2 separate regions of the Homo sapiens genome follow, and region 1 is linked to region 2. The links are contacts of gene promoters, found by promoter capture Hi-C in blood cells and fetal thymus (Javierre and others, 2016). All regions are on one chromosome and are shown on one strand. The core of a region is centred on a gene start or on the middle of the fragment in contact, and the rest is flanking DNA. Distances in the headings are between cores, read along the strand shown. Region 1 overlaps CUBN (cubilin). Region 2 holds the start of CUBN (cubilin).

Region 1 (3,766 bases), core at 235-2,734, 130 kb after region 2:
GTTAGTAGAATTTGATAATCTGTAGATCAGTAATGACAATAATATACTCTGTCCCTGATTTTTTTCTCCTCCTAGTTCCACAGGCTACTCAAATATAGACTATTTTGACCCTGTGTACCAAAATAATGAAATTGAAGGAATGCAGGATAAATAATATAGATTTTACCACCTAAATGTAATCTTAAATTTGTCTGAAGATATTATGATAAAAATAAACTATCTTGCCATGTAAAGAGTGAATGAAAATATGATTAAACGCTTAGTGCATTGGTTTAATTGACATCTCATTCACTATTACTGTTGTTGATGTTATCATTTTAAAACATGACTCAACATGTGTAATTTAAAAATATGATCTTGAGAAGTGAAGCCAGCTGGACTTCCTGGGTCCAGTGGGGACTCGGAGAACTTTTCTGTCTAGCTTGAAGCATTGTAAATGCGCCAGTCGGCGCTCTGTGGCTAGCTAAAAGTTTGTAAATGCACCAATCAGCACTCTGTAAAAACAGACCAATCAGCACCCTGTAAAACGGACCAATCAGCACTCTGTAAAGTGGACCAACCAGCGCTCTGTAAAATGGACCAATCAGCAGGATGTGGGCGGGGCCAAATAAGGGAATAAAAGCTGGCCTCCTGCGCACCAGTGGCAATCCACTGGGGTTGCCCTGCACGCTGTGGAAGCTTTGTTCTTTTGCTCTTCACAATAAATCTTGCTGCTGCTCACTCTTTGGGTCCGCACTACGTTTATGAGCTGTAACACTCACTCCAAAGGTCTCCACCTTCACTCCTGAAGCCAGCGAGACCAGAAACCCACCGGGAAGAATGAACAACTCTGCACACACCACCTTTAAGAGCTGTAACACTCACTGTGAAGGTCTGCAGCTTGACACCTGAAGTCAGCAAGATCACGAACGCACCAGAAGGAAGAAACTCCGGACACATCTGAACATTTGAAGGAGCAAACTCCGGACACACCATCTTTAAGAACTGTAACACTCACTGTTCAGGTCCGTGGCTTCATTCTTGAAGTCAGCGAGACCAAGAACCCACCGGAAGAAACCAATTCCGAACACAATCTCATGTCTCATCCCAATAATTTTCTTAAATGAGCATTATCATTCCCTTATTATGGATGAGAAAACTGAGGAAGAAGCCTGAGACAAGTTAAGTGATGTGTCCAAACTTACACATCCACTAAGCAATGGAATCAGAACACAAAACTCAGTGTGTGATGTCAAACTCAAAGGCCGTGCAATAAGTAGCACGATGGTGCCTGAAAGCAAATATTTTTTCCCCACAGCTTTTCATTGCAAAAAAAGGTCAAATGATATTGCAATGCAAAGAAGGTCAGAGCTTATAGTAGGTAATTTTATAAATTCCCGTAATAATAAATGTTTTTAAAAAGATGTGTGCAATCTTACCCAAGTAAATGGTGATCCAGTTTCAAAGGCTTCCCACTAAGTGACACAATTCATTCTTTCTTTAGGTTCAAGTAGCAATAATATGTGGGTTGGGGCGGAGGGGCGCATTGCTAGGCAAAAGACAAGTTCGAAATAGCTGATGTTATTTGCAATCCTTAAACACAATTTCTGCTTTATTACTCATTTATAAAGTGCTGTTCTGGAGCTGCTATATATGTTGCTGATGGAATCCACCGATCTGGGAGAAACCACGGAGATCATCTGGTCAGTTGCCAAGGTTTAGTTATACAAACTCGCTTACAAGAGGGAGAAGTTATATTAAAGTGAAGAGTAAAAGGGTAGCTGCTCCCAGAACAACTTGGCCGGGCTAGAGTGGACCATGGGAATGGGGTGGAGCATGTGAGGATTTGGGTAATTTAGTTGTTTTTCTTCCCCTAAGCTAAGGACCCAGGCTGGCTGGATGCAGGATTTGCCCTGCGAGGGGCCTGCAGCATGGGATGTTGTAATCAGAGAAAACAACCTTGAGGCTCAGATTTGGACAGAGTTTAAAGGGTCACAGAACACCACTGCCATGGACGTGGTGCTGCCCACCTGTGTCCATTTCTCCGGGTGGAGTCCTCTCCCTGCAGAGGGAAGGTTAGAGGTTGGAGGAGGTGAGGGAAGGAATCAGGGAGAGGCCTGCAATGTAGGTCCCTGGAGGCTCTTTGAGCTTTTCCCTGCAAGAGCCCTGTGTACCAAAATAATGAAATTGAAGGAATGCAGGTTTGAATAATATTTCTAAATAGAAGTATGACTGTTGAACTTGGAAACTGCCTACAGAGAACATGTTTTCTCTGTCTTTGTTTGTTTGAGGGATTTCATAAAGAAGCTTTCAGTAGCCTTAGGCATGACTGCTTATTTCAGGGAAGGTTAGTACAGTTATCTTAGTCTCATTTCTTTCCTTGTACCTTTTTATACTAAACTTTGTTTAGAAGTCTTCAATCATTTCAAAAACATCCAAGGAGAGGGAAAAGAGATTGATCAAATGATTGATTTCTCCTGAAGAATTGTAAGCAAGGGATTTCTACTGGGAAACCATTTTTTAATTTGATTGAAATTAGTAGCTTAAAAGGAAACTGATAAAGTTAATCAAAGTGAAAAGATGACAAGATTGGCTAACTTCTCTAGGTTAAGACGAAAGATAGTATCCTTTTGTATACAGGAAATTAAAATTTATATTACACAGAAACTCCAAAATTATGGCTTCTTTGGATTTCTTTCTCTTTGATGATGTACTAAAGGGAAACACATCAGTATTTAGATCTAGGCCATCTTAGATAGTCAGATGGCTATGACAGTCTTAACTTTGAGTATTTATATGACATCTTGAATAGGAATGTAAAGGTCATTATATAGCGGTCCACAGCATTGATTTCTAAGCTTCTTGTATCTGTTTTCCAAGTCACTGACTTCATGCAATAACTTATTCTTTCACTGTTTTTTATTGTATCTCTACCATTGAAACCCGATGCTCTACTTTATATCCACTGCTGTATAGAAATTAGTCGAATAAAATGGATTATCACAAAATATGGGGCAAGGATGAAGTCTCCATGGAACATGAAACTTTCTAAACGTTCATTGACTCTCCAACACTAAAAATCGTTATGACTTAACTCCCTGGTTCTTGGGTTTACCTGTTTCTTCCTGATGTGATACCTGGCCCTGTATTTGCTGCTAGTTTTCTCAACAATAGACCTTTTCTGTTTTCATGAAAATCTTACCCTTGACCAACCATCCTCTAAACCTCAAGATGACAAATAGGAAGTAATAATTACAAGATGGAATACAGAAAGTTTACAAATGTGCACTCCTTGAATACCACACAAATAGTTGTTACCATTTTGTACCTACCTGGGAGTTTGGCCACCTCAATTATCAGGGAAAGAATGAGGATACATTAGCTTCTTAGGGCTACTGTAACTAAGTACCACAAACTGGGTGGCATGGGACAACAGAAATTTGTTCTCTTTATTCTGGAGGCTGGAATTCCAAAGTCAAGGTGTTGGCAGGGTCATCCCTCTGACGGCTCTAGGGAAGACCCTTCCTTGCTGCTTCTAGCTTCTGTTGATTGATGGCTGTCTTTGGCTTTCTAAGCCTTGTAGATGCATAACTCCAATTTCTGCCTCTATCCACACATGACCTTCTTCCTTCTTGGTGTCTGGGACCAAATTTCCCTCTTCGTATAAGGATACCAAGAATATTGGATTTCAGTTCCACCCCAATCCAGTATGATCTCATTTTAACTTGACTGCATCTGCCAAGGCCCTTTCCTCCAAAAAGGTCACAGTCACAGGTTCCTGGTAGGC
Region 2 (3,288 bases), core at 579-3,078:
GACCTGTTCACAAATGTTCATAACAGCTTTATTTATAATAGTCCCAAACTGGAAATAACTCAAGTGTTTATCAACTGATGAGTAGAGAAGCAAACTGTGGGATAGCCATATGATGAAATACTACTCAATAATAAAAGGGAACCAATTAATGATATACACTACAGCACAGATGAATTACAAAAGCATTATGTTGAGTGAAAGAAGCAGATACAAGAGACATATAGAAGAAATTGGGAAGGTTTAAAAAAAATTTTTAAAAGCAGTGACTATTTGAGTATCACAAGTAAAGTTTTTTTTTGTTTTGTTTTGTTTTTGAGACGGCATCTCGCTCTGTCCCCCAGGCTGGAGTGCAGTGGCATGATCTCAGCTCACTGCAAGCTCCGCCTCCCGGGTTCACGCCATTCTCCTGCCTCAGCCTCCCGAGTAGCTGGGACTACAGGCGCCCGCCACTAAGCCCGGCTAATTTTTTGTATTTGTAGTAGAGACGGGGTTTCACCACGTTAGCCAGGATGTTCTCGATCTCCTGACCTCGTGATCCGCCCGCCTCGGCCTCCCAAAGTGCTGGGATTACAGGCGTGAGCCACCGCGCCCGGCATAAGTAAAGAATTATAAGCTATGGTACATAATGATCCTCTCCTCAAAGAGCCTACATAAGTAAGACACAAAATAAGTAAAACACAAACAGGCTTGTCCTGAAAGAGCCTGCATGGGTATTAACCAATGCAATGGTAATTACCTAGAGATTTTTCTTAGAAGTGAAATTTTTACAGCTCTCCCTCAAATTCAGTTTTGTCTGTGTGCTCATGGAAAGTCTGAGTGCATCAATAGTTGATTTTACAATCGAAATGTAGAATATTTTCATCACTCTCAGTGGTTTCTGTAGTCCCAGCACAGAGTGAGTGGGGACATCAGTGCTCCATGTCCTCAAACCATATATCCAGCTGGAAGGGTGTATAGCGCAGTGTGGAAAGTGGGAATGGATTCCACAGCCGTCCATAGGTCCCACAGGGATGATAAAAAGTAAAAAGTACAAATTCTTTGTACATTCTGGATATTAACCCATTTTCATATATATATGATTTGCAAATATTTTCTTCCATTCTGGGAGTTGCTTTTTCACTCTGTTGATGTATTTTTTGATGCACAAACGTTTTTAATTTTGATGTATTCCAATTTATATCTTTTGGTTGTCTGTGTGTTTTTCTTTTTTTGCCCATGCTTTTGGTATCATACTCAAGAAATCATTGCCAAATCCAAAATCCAAGGTCATGAATTTTTGTCCTATTCTTCTGAGTTTTATGTTATAGTTTCAGATTTTTTGAACCATTGTGAGTTAATTTTATAGTTTTAGCTCTTAGATTTAGATCTTTGAACTTTTTTGAGTTAATTTTTGCATATGGTATGAGGTAAGCCTCCAACTTCTTTTGCATGTGGATATCTAGTTTTCCTAGCGCTGGGTAAAGGTGGAACTCCTCTGCAAGGGAGGTGAGGAAGGAGGGGAACAGAGAAAGGTGTAGATAATGACCAGTTTACTTTTGTTGAAACCTAGTTACTTCTTAAGCAAAGATTGTTTAAGTGGATGTTTTCAAAGCTGCTTGTTACTGTTTCAAAGGTCAAATAGATAATGATTAAGTTGCGCATCACTTAAGGTAGATTTTGACCTCTCACAAGTTGAAGAGTACTGAAGATCTAAGATCATTTACATCCCTCTGGAAGAAAAAATAACATAGCCTTCTAGGGCAAAGAAGAAAAAACTCAACAGTTACAGGATATTCCATGGTTCAAAGTACACCTGCCTGGTTTGCTGTTCTCCAAAATCCCATGCTCAGTTGGTTGGAGTGGCCTCACTCTTACCTGCCAACCTGGGAGGTTGATGATGAACATGTCTTTACCTTTTCTTTGGAGTTTGCTTACCTTATTAATATTTGCTGAAGTAAATGGCGAAGCTGGAGAACTTGAGCTGCAGAGACAAAAAAGAAGCATCAATCTCCAACAGTAAGTAAACACATGGGTCATTCCTGCTCAGGGACTAGGCTAATTCCTCACCAGTTTTCCCAAATAGCCAGATAAACAAAGGTGCAATTTTTCTTGAGGAAAATTATGTTGAGAAGCAAACAGGGAAAAACATTTAGACTGAGGTATGAAATTACTTTCCTATGCACAAATTATTATCTGTCATTTTGCAAATAATCTGTTTGCAATTGCCAGGAGGTATCTCTGAGAAATGTGCAGAGAAAAAAGTGGCAGATGAGCAGGGGCAGTTGGGTTGAGATGATCAAAAAGTGAAGATGTATTTGGCCTGTAGTTATTCAGTAAGAAACTTTGTTATTTTGGTTTAAAAATTGTACTTGCTAATTACTGATGCATTCTCTCGTTTGAATTATATAGGCCTCGAATGGCTACAGAGAGAGGAAATTTGGTGTTTCTTACGGGGTCTGCTCAAAACATTGAGTTTAGAACCGGATCCCTGGGAAAAATTAAATTAAATGATGAAGATCTCAGTGAGTGTTTACATCAGGTAATACACTGGAAATATATTGAAGTCATTTTGTATATCCATATACGGTGACTTAATTGAACAAGTCTAGATTAATCTGTACCTTGAATCTTTTTTAATTATTATTTTTTATTAATACATAATTTGATACATTCCTATAATGTGTAAAGTTCAAATCAGGGTAATTGGGATATCCATCACCTTAAATATTTACCTTTTCTTCATGCTAAGAACATATGAATTGTTCTCTTCTAGTTATTTTGAAATGTACAATAGATTAATGTTAACTATAGTCACCCTACTGGTCTATCAAACACTAGGTCTTATTTCTTCTATCTAACTATATATTGTATTCATTAATCAACCTGTCTTCAGCCTCCCTCCCCCTTCCTAGTGTACCTTGAATCTTTAGCATAGAGAACATAATTGGGCATCAGACATGTTCTTGTAAAGGACGATGGCCTGGGGTTAATAGTGGGTAGAGGGAGTATGCTAAAAGATAGAAGCTCATTGTGCCAGACAATGCACCCTAGTCCAGAGAAGGCACGGAGGGTGGAACTGAAACTCCTCCACAGGGGATGCGAGGAAGTAGGGGACCAAGGATATGTGGACATGTGACCAGTTTGCTTTTGCCACAGAACAGAATTGGCCAGTTATTCTCCTGCCTTACTGGGTGTTTTCATTTCCCAATAATCACTGCATATTTCAGTCATAATGTTAGAAGTCAGCATTATTCAGAGCTTACTGTGGGCCATCCACTGTGCTTAGCACCGTATGGATGTTATCTCATT

Evidence for each region. Contacts are between HindIII fragments. The CHiCAGO score rates a contact against its expected background, and 5 or more counts as called.
Region 1: a contact is called between a fragment that was not itself captured here and the fragment with the promoter of CUBN in region 2, in 3 of 17 cell types (activated CD4 T cells, M0 macrophages and M1 macrophages). The highest score is 8.3, in activated CD4 T cells.

The regions. Positions count from the first base shown.
Region 1 is chr10:16,998,181-17,001,946 of GRCh38, reverse strand. The region is part of intron 28 of CUBN (cubilin); the gene reads left to right. Among named protein-coding and RNA genes, the nearest start is that of CUBN, 130 kb to the left of the region's middle. The HindIII fragment of the contact is 1,608 bases long and covers 681-2,288 here.
Region 2 is chr10:17,128,351-17,131,638 of GRCh38, reverse strand. It overlaps CUBN (cubilin), which reads left to right and starts at 1,828. Exons shown (of 67, transcript NM_001081.4): 1 at 1,828-1,995; 2 at 2,389-2,518. The coding sequence starts at 1,874. The HindIII fragment of the contact is 5,551 bases long and covers 1-3,288 here.